Linked DNA regions of Homo sapiens: all the other regions are linked to region 2. The links are contacts of gene promoters, found by promoter capture Hi-C in blood cells and fetal thymus (Javierre and others, 2016). All regions are on one chromosome and are shown on one strand. The core of a region is centred on a gene start or on the middle of the fragment in contact, and the rest is flanking DNA. Distances in the headings are between cores, read along the strand shown. Region 1 holds the start of PER3 (period circadian regulator 3). Region 2 holds the start of PHF13 (PHD finger protein 13). Region 3 has its middle 6.1 kb from the start of TNFRSF9.

The links. The method cuts DNA at HindIII sites, captures the fragments that hold promoters and counts their contacts. A CHiCAGO score of 5 or more calls a contact.
Region 1: the fragment with the promoter of PER3 here is called in contact with the fragment with the promoter of PHF13 in region 2 in 1 of 17 cell types (M0 macrophages); the score reaches 6.3 in M0 macrophages.
Region 3: a fragment that was not itself captured here is called in contact with the fragment with the promoter of PHF13 in region 2 in 1 of 17 cell types (neutrophils); the score reaches 5.1 in neutrophils.

The regions. Positions count from the first base shown.
Region 1 is chr1:7,782,630-7,786,436 of GRCh38, forward strand. PER3 (period circadian regulator 3) reads left to right here and starts at 1,662. Exons shown (of 22, transcript NM_001377275.1): 1 at 1,662-1,747; 2 at 2,025-2,376; 3 at 2,812-2,957. The coding sequence starts at 2,249. RefSeq lists a silencer at 1,128-1,737. The HindIII fragment of the contact is 8,097 bases long and covers 1-3,807 here.
Region 2 is chr1:6,611,174-6,615,068 of GRCh38, forward strand. PHF13 (PHD finger protein 13) reads left to right here and starts at 2,558. Exons shown (of 4, transcript NM_153812.3): 1 at 2,558-2,932. The coding sequence starts at 2,894. It overlaps LOC107984913 (a long non-coding RNA gene), which reads right to left and starts at 2,214. Exons shown (of 2, transcript XR_001737882.3): 1 at 1,519-2,214. RefSeq lists silencers at 2,007-2,056, 2,107-2,886, 3,057-3,146, 3,287-3,746. The HindIII fragment of the contact is 6,383 bases long and covers 1-3,895 here.
Region 3 is chr1:7,944,973-7,948,867 of GRCh38, forward strand. No RefSeq gene overlaps it. Among named protein-coding and RNA genes, the nearest start is that of TNFRSF9, 6.1 kb to the left of the region's middle. The HindIII fragment of the contact is 3,304 bases long and covers 1-3,083 here.

The DNA of each region.
Region 1 (3,807 bases), core at 412-2,911, 1.2 Mb after region 2:
ATGCTTGCTGAACGAATGCAGTTTGACAAAACCCAGCTTCGGAGGAGAGCAAGCCAACCTAGAGTATCGCTTGGAAGATATAAGGTGGTTTATTCAATACCTAACATGAACACTCACCTCACTTTTCCCCTCTTCCTTTACATACAATTTCATCCATCCAACAAATACTGAATATTTTTTCTGTACCAGGCAGCGAAGAGGGGCGGCACTCTGCACTGTACCTTTCATTTCTAACATGTTGAGATACTAAACTGAGCTTTCAGACATTTTTTTTAAAGGGCTCTACAACTTCTTTTCTGAAACAGAGTGTCTTTTACGTTTGTCTTCCTCCAGTTGCCAAATGAATCTAATTTTAGGAAGTGCAGGGAAGTGTTTTAAGTTCCACCGTCAAAATTCTGTTTCTGGGCCGGTGCAGTGGCTCACGCCAGTAATCCCAACATTTTGGGAGACCGAGGCCAGCAGATCACTGGGGCTTAGGAGTTTGAGAACAGCCTGGCTAACACAGACCATCTTTACCAAAAACACAAAAATTAGCCAGGTGTGGTGGCTGCACCTGTAGTTCCAGCTACTCGGGAGGCTGAAGCAGGAAACTGGCTTGAGCCCAGAAGACGGAGGTTGCAGTGAGCCAAAATCGCGCCACTGCACTCCATCCAGCCTGGACAACAGAGCAAAACCCTGTCTCAAAAAATAAAAAATCTGTTTCTAAAAATCGGGTGGGCTTTTTACCAGGGCTGCTTTATGGCCCGGTTCCTCCAAGTCCACCCCACTCACCGAAAGAGTTAGCGGAGGATGGGGGCGGTTGGGGTGGGCTCGGTAGGTCACGGGCGGTGAAAACCGTGGGAACCCAGAAAGACGGCCAAAGCACGATGAGGACCGCTGCCGGCAGCCCGCCCCACCCTGGGCTCCTCCCCACACCCGCTCGGGCAGCCGGGAGCCACCTACAAACTCCAGGACTCGACCCCAGAGCGCTGGCCTGAGCCGCCCCTGCTCGCCCCCAGTCCCCGCCTCTCCCTCCCTCTAATGCCCCCGCCCTCGACACCGTCGCCCCCCCGCCCCTGCCTCTCGCTCCCCACGTCTCTCGGCACCCCCGCTCCCATCCGCCCCCCCGTCCCCGCCTCTCGCCCCCATCCGTCCCCATTTCCAGCCTCCCCCTGACCCCGACTCAAGCCCCCCGACTCCGCCTCTCGCCCCTCTCTGCCCCCGCCTCTCACTCCCCTCTCCTTCCCCGCCCGCCTCTCACGTGGAGGTTGGGCCGGACCCGCCCCGCCCCACAGAGCCCGGGTCCCGCCCCCACGTGGCTGGCAGCTTCCTGGCCCTATCATTTCTGCGCTGGCTTCAGCGGCTCCGCCCCGGCGCCGTGCCAGGGGGCCGGACACTCCAGTCGCGCGGCACAGGCCTGAGGCCGCTGAGGGCCACCCCGTCCCCTGCCCGCCCGCCGGCCTGCTGGGATTGGCCGAGCGCCGGCCTCCGCCCGAGCCCGCGCGTTATGTAACGCGCCCCGGGGGCCCCGCCCCCTCGCCCTGGCTTATATAACCCGGGCGCACCGGCTCGCGCCCCGCCCCAGGGCCAATGGAGGCCTGCGGAGTCGGCCCCGACGACCAATCGCACGGCCCGGGGGCGGGACCGGTCACGCGGCGGCAGGGGGCGCGGCGCCGGCTGCTGACCGGCACGCGGCGAGCCTCGAGACTGCGCGAGGGCGGCCCCGGGGGCGAGCGGCTGTGCGCGGGGCCAAGGGCGGGGGCAGCAGGTGAGTGCGCGGCCGGGCGGGAGTTCTGGGCGGCCGGGCGGGAGTTCTGGGCACTCGCGCGCGGCAGAGGAGCCCCGCGAGCCCTGCCCTCGGTACTGGGGGCCCCCGGAGCGTGGCGCTTCCGAGCCACCCGCCTCCCCGGGCCCCATCCCTCGGCGCGCGGGAAAGTTGGGGCAGGGGTGAGGACCGCGCGGTCGGGGCGCCCCAGCCAGCCGGGCCGCTGGCGTCGGACTGTCTGTTCCATTTGTCCCTTGTCACCCTTGTCTCCTCCCCCTAGGCCGGAGTCCTGAAAGTCGAGCGAGCTCCGGGTTTTGAAAATGTTGGAGGGAAAAGCTCCTCGGAGATGAGCGTGACCCCCTGGCTCGTGGTGGCCGCCTGTTCTCACTAACGCCATGGCGGGGACCGGAGTGAGAAACCGGTGTCTGTCACTGACTGCAAAGTGAGCGAGAAGCAGGCTGCGGGCCGTCCCAGCACGACGTGGAGCCCCGCGGAGACCTCGAGATGCCCCGCGGGGAAGCTCCTGGCCCCGGGAGACGGGGGGCTAAGGACGAGGCCCTGGGCGAAGAATCGGGGGAGCGGTGGAGCCCCGAGTTCCATCTGCAGAGGAAATTGGCGGACAGCAGCCACAGGTGACGCGCTGGCTTCAGGCCGAGGGCCCCATGCGTTCGTTGTCCTTCCCTGGAGCAGGGAAAGGGGGACCTAAATCTTTTTATTCTTTTGTTTTCAAGCCCAGGGGAAAGTGTAAAGGGGAGACTCGGGCAATGTAGGATGAAGTGATCCGTGACACTGAAGAAAATTACCGAAGAGTATCAGGAGGGAAAAGTGGTTACAAAAGTTAGCTGAGTTGGGGCTCAAGTGGATTAAGGGAAAGTAAGTGGAGAATGTTTGTCATTCACCAGTTGCTTTGCCTCGAGTTCCCCACCTAGAGGAAGAGGGGTCACCACCCTGTGGACTGATGCCGGTAGAGCACTTAGAAACTTACCTGGCTTGCAGTTTGTGTTCCCTAAGCCGCAAGATGCTGTTGTCTTCAGAGGATGAAGTTGTAATTTTTTTTTATCTTCCAGTGAACAGCAAGATCGAAACAGAGTTTCTGAAGAACTTATCATGGTTGTCCAAGAAATGAAAAAATACTTCCCCTCGGAGAGACGCAATAAACCAAGCACTCTAGATGCCCTCAACTATGCTCTCCGCTGTGTCCACAGCGTTCAAGGTAAACAAGCCGGAGAGAAATTTCATCCTACGAATGCACCAGGACTCATACAAGCAGCCAGAGGAGTGGTCAGTGGGGTCTCAGTCAGACAAATAATTTGAGCTTTTTCTGGTGCTTTGTGGAAGATGAGCAAATCTACACCGATTCCATTCGTGTCTTAATTGTTCACATGTGAAAGACCAGGAAAACTTTATCTGTATAATAGTGTATAATACCTATGCAATGTTTTGCTCATGTGTTGCAAGAGAGTAGAGTTTAGCATAAGCACATTTTGAAGGCTGACCTTTTAAAGAAATATTGTCTTCTATGGAAGTTATGGGAAAAAAATGCATTCCACGAAATAGTTACCTTTACATGCCGTACACATACTTTCAAAATGCAGTAATGAGGCTGGGCGCGGTGCCTCACGCCTGTAATCCCAGCACTTTGGGAGGCCGAGGCGGGCAGATCACGAGGTCAGGAGATCGAGACCATCCTGGCTAATACGGTGAAACCCCGTCTCTACTAAAAATACAAAAAATTAGCCGGGTGTGGTGGCGGGCGCCTGTAGTCCAGCTATTCGGGAGGCTGAGACAGGAGAACGGCGTGAACCCGGGAGGCGGAGCTTGCAGTGAGCCGAGATCACGCCACTGCACTCCCGCCTGGGTGACAGAGCGAGACTCTGTCTCTAAAAAATAATAATGATAAAAATGCAGTAATGATATATCAGGAATTTACCAAACTAAAAATGAACCATTGTAAACACTTTTTCTCTCTGACATTTCCAGGGATTTCATTAAAGCCATATTCTCTTTAGCACAAACCTCAGTGCTTCATATATGATATGTTCCTGAATGACAGAGTACTGTTT
Region 2 (3,895 bases), core at 1,308-3,807:
TCCACCTCCCTGACCCATGTCGGTCAGGCTGGTCTCGAACTCCTGACCTCAGGTGATCTGCCTGCCTCGGCCTCCCAAAGTGCTAGGATTACAGGTGTGAGCCACCGTGCCTGGCCCGATAATTTCTTAATATGTGTGTGTGTGGGAAAGGATTTAATGTTTATTATGTGACACATTTACCACAGGGGATAATAATGAGGTGTAAAAAAAAAAATCCCTCTTCTTTCACTTGGGTTTCACCTCTAATAATTATTCTTGGCCAGGCGCGGTGGCTCACGCCTGTAATCCCTGCACTTTGGGAGGCCTAGGTGTGCGGATCACGAGGTCAAGAGATCAAGACCATCTGGCCAACATGGTGAAACCCTGTCTGTACTAAAAATACAAAAACTAGCTGGGCGTGGTGGTGGGCGCTGGTAGTCCAGGCTACTTGGGAGGCTGAGGCAGGAGAATCGCTTGAACCCGGGAGGTGGAGGTTGCAGTGAGCTGAGATGGCGCCACTGTACTCCAGCCTGGCGACAGAGGGAGATTCTGTCTCCAAAAAAAAAAAGAATTATTCTTTTTGGTATTTACATTTTTAAACTACCAACGGGATCAACACCTTAGCAGTGTTTCTTATTCTGGCAAAACGAGTTGCTCCTTGTGAATATGACCTTGGGCAATACAGGCTAACTTCGGGGCATCTGCTTTGGTCACAGTAACCAGGTAACATTCCAAATCTGGCTAAATCATCTGTGCAATTGTATAAGAAGTTGTTAATCAAGTCTCGATGGGCCAAGTCCAATGTCTCTGTTTTAATCAGTAATTTCATGTTTTATCTTGTAAAGTACCTCAATTTATCACCTTTGGGAAGCCCTCCAATGGGCTACAATATTGCAGAAATAATAAAACAACAACAACAACAACAACAGTAAGCTACCATTTATTTAGCCAGGCACTACGCTAAAATTTAACAGCTTAGGAAACTGAGGCTCAGAGAAGTATTTTTTTTTTTTTTTTTGAGACAGAGTCTCGCTCTGTCGCCCAGGCTGGAGTGCAGTGGCACGATCTCGGCTCACTGCAAGCTCCGCCTCCCGGGTTCAAGCAATTCTCCCGCCTCAGCCTCCCGAGTAGCTGGGATTACAGGTGTCCGCCACCACGCCCATCTAATTTTTGTATTTTTAGTAAAGACGGGGTTTCACCATGTTGGTCAGGCTGGTTTCGAACTCCTGACCTCGTGATCCACCCGCCTCGGCCTCCCAAAGTGCTGGGAATACAGGCGCGAGCCACCGCGCCCGGCCGCTCAGAGAAGTATTTCTAAGATTAACACCATCTCCTAACTATTAAATATCTTCATCAGAATGATCATAACCCTTGAAATAGCAACAGCCAGCTTGATGGAGCATTCGGCGCCTGTCAAATATCTTACTAGTATCTCCAAGAGTTCGTTTTCTAATTTGAATTTTCAATTTTGTGTCACTCCCCTTTAACTTCTTCGAAGCTACCAAACAGGTTACTGAATCATCTGCGTTTTGTACTTACCTTTTTCCCCCACTTTCGAATATTAAAAATGTTCCCGTCAGACCGCCTTTTGGTCACCGCATAGGGGCAGTCCCCACCGTGTCCGGCCAGCCTTCCACACGTACAGCTGTCGGATACTCTGCGGTCCAGCGTTTACACACTGCCCATCCCAGTTAAACACCACTAAACAAGTACCAGTCGATGCCAGCGCCAAACACCGCGTCTCCGCCTCGCCCTGCGGGCCGGAGGATATTCAGGAGAGTGGGAAAACGGCCGGTCCCAAGGTTAGGCTTAGGCGGCAACAGAAAGCAAACTGAACGCACACCTCTTTAGAACACTGACAACGCTGGCCCGGTGTTTTTAATGCACGAACCCGGCCACCTCGAGTGAATCCCGCAGATGCCTAGAGAAGAGCCCGGTCCAGTCCCGGCCCCGCGGGCCCGGAGCAGGGAGCCGCACGAAGCCCGCAGCCGCGAAAACAACTTCGCTGAGCCCGGCCTGGAGCGGGGGCCGGGCGGCGACTCCGCCCTCAGCGGGGAGCGGGGAGCGGGGAGCGATGCCCGGGGCGGCCGCGACGTCAGCGTCCCCGCCCCTGCCGCCCCTACTCCCGGCCAGGCCTCGGGGACCCCCGCCCCACAAAGGGGCGCGAACCCCAAGTAGGAGACGAGGAAGGGTAGGTGCCAGCCGCCGCCGCCCTTCGCAACCCGGGCCGTCAGCCCCGCCCCCACCGCCGCAGCGACTCCCGCCCCCGCGCCCGCCGAGACCAAGGCGCTACCGCTCACACTGCCCCTCCCCCCGCGGCCGAGCCGGCGCGGGCCCCCGCACCTCCCCCGCTCGCGCGGCCTCGAGTCCAGAAGACCCGCCTCCACACACCGGGGCCGCCGCCGCGGAGCCTCATGGGGGTTGGAGTCCCCAAGGTTTCCTTTGTGCGCAGTATTGGCGGGGCCTTGGACTACCACTCCCACAAGGCACCGCGCCCGCCTCCCGCGCCACGCCCCCTCGCCGCTGGCTTCCAGTCGCCACCCAGACTACATTTCCCGACAGGCCTCCCGGCTCTCCCGCCCTCCCTCCCGAGACACGAGCCGAACTGGGCGTCAGGTCGGGGAGCCGGTCGGGTTCCCGCTCACCGCCGCCGCCGCCGCCCCCTGCAGCCACTCTCCCGCCTCTACCGCCGCGGGAGCTGCATCGTCCACTCCGGTCGGCGGTGGAACCGCCAGTCCGGGGTCACAGAGCTTGAGAAGCGACGCGCTGAGCCCCCCATCACCTCCAGCCCGGGCGACCCCTCCCGGGTCCGCCCTCGCCCTGCGCAGCCGCCCGAGCCCCCAGCCCCGGGCGGCCCCGCTCCAGCATCCCAGCTCCTGCACTCTCGCAGCCGCCGCCGCCCCCCGCCCGGAACATGGACTCTGACTCTTGCGCCGCCGCCTTCCACCCGGAGGTGAGTGAAGCTGTGCGTCCGAATCGCCCCCGACCACCCCCTCCGCGATCCTGCCGTCCTCAGGCAGCCAGACCCCCGGTCGCCCGGAGCGCCGCCCTCCCCTTCCCCCGCTTTCCCCTCGTCGGCCCCCCCGGGAGCCCAACCCCCGCCCCCTGCTCGGGCCCGCGCTCGGTCCTCTCCGCCGGGCCTCGCCTCCGCGTCCCCTCCGCGGACCTCCGCGTCCTCCCCGCGCCCTTTCCCCAGGGCCGTTGCGCCTATTTCTCTCCCCCGGGCCGCCCCTCTCCGGCCTCGCGTCGACCTGGGACCTGTCGGCGCCCCCAGCCCCTCCCCGCCGGCCTGCTTACTCTTTCCCCGCCCCCGGGGACGCGGTCCGAGCCGCCGCCCGCCCCTGGCTCCGGTTGCTCTCGAGGAGTTTTAGGCCCCCCTCGGACCGGGGTCGGCTCCCGAGGCCCCCGGCTGCTCCCCCGATCCCCCGGGCCCGGTGGCCCGCGCCCCGCCCCCTGACTCCGCGCGGGGCCCAGTCGGCCCCCGCCCCCTACGGCTCTCGGGGGCCGCGTCCTCCGGGGGCCCCACCCGCTCTGGGGACCCGAGTCCTGCCCCCACCCACCGCCCCCCGGCGCGCTGGCCTCTCTCTTCGGGCCCCCGCCCCCCGCCCGCGGGCTTTGCTGGCTCCGCCCCGGCTCACTCCCCCTCCTTCCGGGGATCGGCCCTCGGGGCTCCCGGCCTCCCCCCCGCGCGGTCCCCTCCCCCCAGCCGAGGCTCGTTGGGGTCGGGGGTGCGGGTCCGGCGACCGCGGGCGGGTGGGGGAGGGGAGGCGGCGCCGGAGCCCGCCGGTCTCGCTGCCGCCCCCGGGGGTTCGCAGGGCCTCCCCAGGCCTGGGACCCCGGAATCCTGCCTGGCGCACCCCCCTCACACATACTCGCGGGATGGGCCCCGCACCTTCGGGGGCCGAGTGTCGCGGGG
Region 3 (3,895 bases), core at 182-2,681, 1.3 Mb after region 2:
TTGTTTTTAAACTTGGAACAAAGAAAATGAGCAGGAAATCAAAGAGGAAGGAGGCAGAGTAAGGAGAAGGAAGTACGAATCATAAGGAGAGGCGGGTGTCAGCAGCCATCGACTTTGCTCACCTTTCCTCCTTGTTCTGCCCTTTCTCCAGGTGGCATCCACTCATATGCTAAGGCTTATCAATAGTTGTCTCCAACTTCAGACCACCCCCAACACTGTGCAGTCCCCAGGACAAGAGTACAAACAGAGGCCTGCTTACCATGTGTCCAAATATTTAGAAATTGTTCATCAATCCAAATACGCTGTTAAGTATGTTCTGTCCAGAGCAGAGACACAAACACACAAACACAATGAACACAGAGCTGCGTCTGTGACTGGGTGTCTGGCGCACGGTGCTGGCATAGGGATGCATTAACTCGGCTCCATCTGCTCTCTGGACCCACACTGCCAGGCCTGGGTGAAGACTCCCCCACATCCCTGGATCCATGTCCTTGAAACTCCATTTGAGGGTGACACCGTGCTGTGAGAGTTGTGAGCTGTGCTGTTGCCTCCAAGAACGGCAGGGAGGGTGTGAGCCATAGAAGTACCAGGCAGACAAAAGGCAAGTAGATTTGTCAAATCCATCTCAGATACCAAGGGTGTAACAGATTCTTGTATAATCTATTATTATGCAAGAATATCACAGACAGTGGTATTTCCCTACAGTCCCAAGTATCCTTTTTTTTTTTTTTTTTGAGACAGGGTCTCACTCTGTCACCCAGGCTGTAGTGCAGTGGTGCAATCTTGGCTCACTGCAGCTTCTGCCTCCAGGGTTCAAGGGATTCTTCTGCCTCAGCCTCCCGAGTAACTGGGACTACAGGTGCGCACCACCTTGCCCAGCTAAGTTTTATATTTTTTTGTAGAAAGGGGTTTTGCCATGTTGCTCAGGCTGGTTATCCACTTGCTTGATCCAATTTATGGCCCACTTGGTGGTTTTGGAAGTTCTTGTATATTGCCATGGAATTCACAGCAGTTATGCACAAAGTCTGAGGAAGACTTTGTAATATTAAACAATTCATATTATTCTTGAATATGCACATATGTAATATGTAGAATAAGAACTGCAGCATTAATTCTTTACTAGAATCACCTAGGACTGAGACCCAGAATGACAATTTCAATTTTTATAAAAATATTTAAAACAATTTAAATTTCAAAAGATTAAAAATCTCAGTTCTTTAATAAAAATAAGTTTTAAATATTTGATATTTATCCACTATAATTTGTTTTTAATTCTAATACTTTTGGAACTTTTAGAAAAATGAAAAAACGAATGTAAAAACAAATTTAAAATTTTACATACTCAAATTCACACATTATATTAAATACATACAAATGCTGTATATGTTAAGTACAATTATATTTTATTTCTTAATCCTTTAAGTCATTACTGTCCAAACACAAATTATGCGAAATTATCTATTGTAACAAATGAAATGAAAGCAAAAAAATAAATTTTCTAGATAAAAATACAATTATTTATGAACTATGTGTGTCTTTTTTTTTTTTTGAGACGAAGTCTCGCTGTGTCACCCAGGCTGGAGTGCAGTGGTGTGATCTCGGCTCACTGCAACCTCTGCCTCCTGGGTTCAAGCGATTCTCCCCACTCAGCCTCCCAAGTAGCTGGGACTGCAGGTGTGTGCCACCACACCCGGCTAATTTTTGTATTTTTAGTAGAGACGGGGTTTCACCGCATTGGCCAGGATGGTCTCAAACTCCTGAACTCAGGTGATCTGCCTGCCTCGGCCTCCCAAAGTGCTGGGCTTACAGGCGTGAGTCACCATGCCCGGCCCTGTATGCCTTTATTTACCACTAATTTAAACATTTTCAGGTCATCAGAAAACATCTACACATTTGTAATGTTAGTTAAACTCAGTCATCTTTGCCAACTTTGTTACATAAAAATAATTTGTTATTTAGTTACTTTGAAGACTTCTCTGTGAAGTAGAATATTCTCCTTGCGCTTGATTTGCCACTTTTAAATATTCAGACATGGTGTGTGGGCCCCATTTCTATACTTGCTCCAGGCCCCAAAAGTGTTAGAGACAGCGCTGAGAGACACACAGTTGGTAGTCAATAAACCTTTATCAAATGAACAAATAAATACATGGATTTGTTCACTCCAGTCCTGCGGTCTGCCTGTCTCTTCATGACCTAATGTTTTAATTTCACTCTCTTCCTGGGGAAATCATTCTGGCATGCAGACCCCAACCTGAGCTGTCATTGTCCTTTCTCAGGTCTCATGTAAAATGCTTTTCTGATCACGGCTGACACTGGCCGAGGGCTTACTATGCGCAAGGCACTGTTCTATGTATTTACAGAAGTTCCCACAATTATACCTTAGGACAGCCTTTGTCCCTGTTTCACAGGTGAGGAAACAAGGGCACAGAGAAGCCAGGTAGCCTGCCTGGTGTCACCTGGCTAGTAAGGAGCCGAGAAAGGATTAGAAACTCGGCTGTCTGGCTGCAGAGCCCATGCTCTTAACCAGACTCTTAACCTGCCTGTGCCCAAGGCCCCATTCGCTTGTGGGTCCTATGCTTGTGGAGCCCTCAGAATAGGATTCGTAATTCATAAAATATATTACAAAGGATTACAAAGGAAACCAACTGAATTGAAATGTCCCTGCCAAATATTTTAAAAGCCAATTTGTGATGCACTAATATATGGACTTAACATGTATCTGGCATAATTTCAAATTAATCATGAATCAAAATGGTATTCTGGGATATCTGCAAGAACTGTAATGTGATATGAAGATGACTTTCAGTACTATTGGTCCCAAGCCATGAGTACTGTTCCTTCAGCTATGCTTTGTGAATTACTATATTCCAAATGGGAAGAAATGTTAGGTTTAGATTTCCATTAGAGGTTAGTGAAACTAAAGATGTAATTTAAATCTAAGTTCACAGACTCCCTGATTTTTATCTGTGCACCTTTGAGCATCTGTGGACCTCAGGGTCACAACCCCTGTATGAAGTCTCCTTGCTGTCGCTCATGCGCTTAAACAGTTTGAGCTCTGGGAACTTGCTCTTACTCCAAGAGCAAGCTTCACTTTGATTATTTCTCCAGATGCTGTCATTGTATCTTAAGGCAAAAACTCTATGTCATTTCTGTCCCTCACCATCCTCACCAAGATGGCACATGTTTATGGTGTATCACATTCTGTGGTCCATTCCTCTGGTCCCTTCAACGCTGAATTTAAACAGATTGCGACTACCACTAAATAAATGTTTTCTAATAACAAGAGCTAATACTTATGGGTGGCTTCCTGCATTGCAGATGTTATGCTAAACACTTTAAATGTTTTATTTAGTCTCAGAAGACAGATTTTGTTCCTTCTGAAGAGGCTAAATAAAATATTTAAAGTGTTGAGCATAGGCCGGGTGCGGTGGCTCATCCCTGTAATCCCAGCACTTTAGGAGGCCGAGGTGGGCGGATCACCTGAGGTCAGGCATTTGAGACCAGCCTGGCCAACATGGTGAAATCCCGTCTCTACTAAAAATACCAAAATTAGCTGGGCATGGTGGCGTGTGCCTGTAGTCCCAGCTGCTTGGGAGGCTGAGGTGGGAGAATCACTTGAACCTGGGAAGTGGAGGTTACAGTGAGCCGAGATCACACCACTGCCCCTTAGCCTGGGCAACAGAGTGAGACTCTGTCTCACAGATGCACACAAAAAAAGTGTTGAGCATAACATCTGCAATGCAGGAACTCCATGAGGTAAGAATTATTGTTACTATTCTAATGTGAAGAAACAGAAGCCAAGGGAGTTCAATTCCTGAGACAAGGATTAAGGGCAGCATTTGAGGGTTTACTCCAGGCCAGTGTTCTAGCTTTACCTATATTCATTCATTTAATT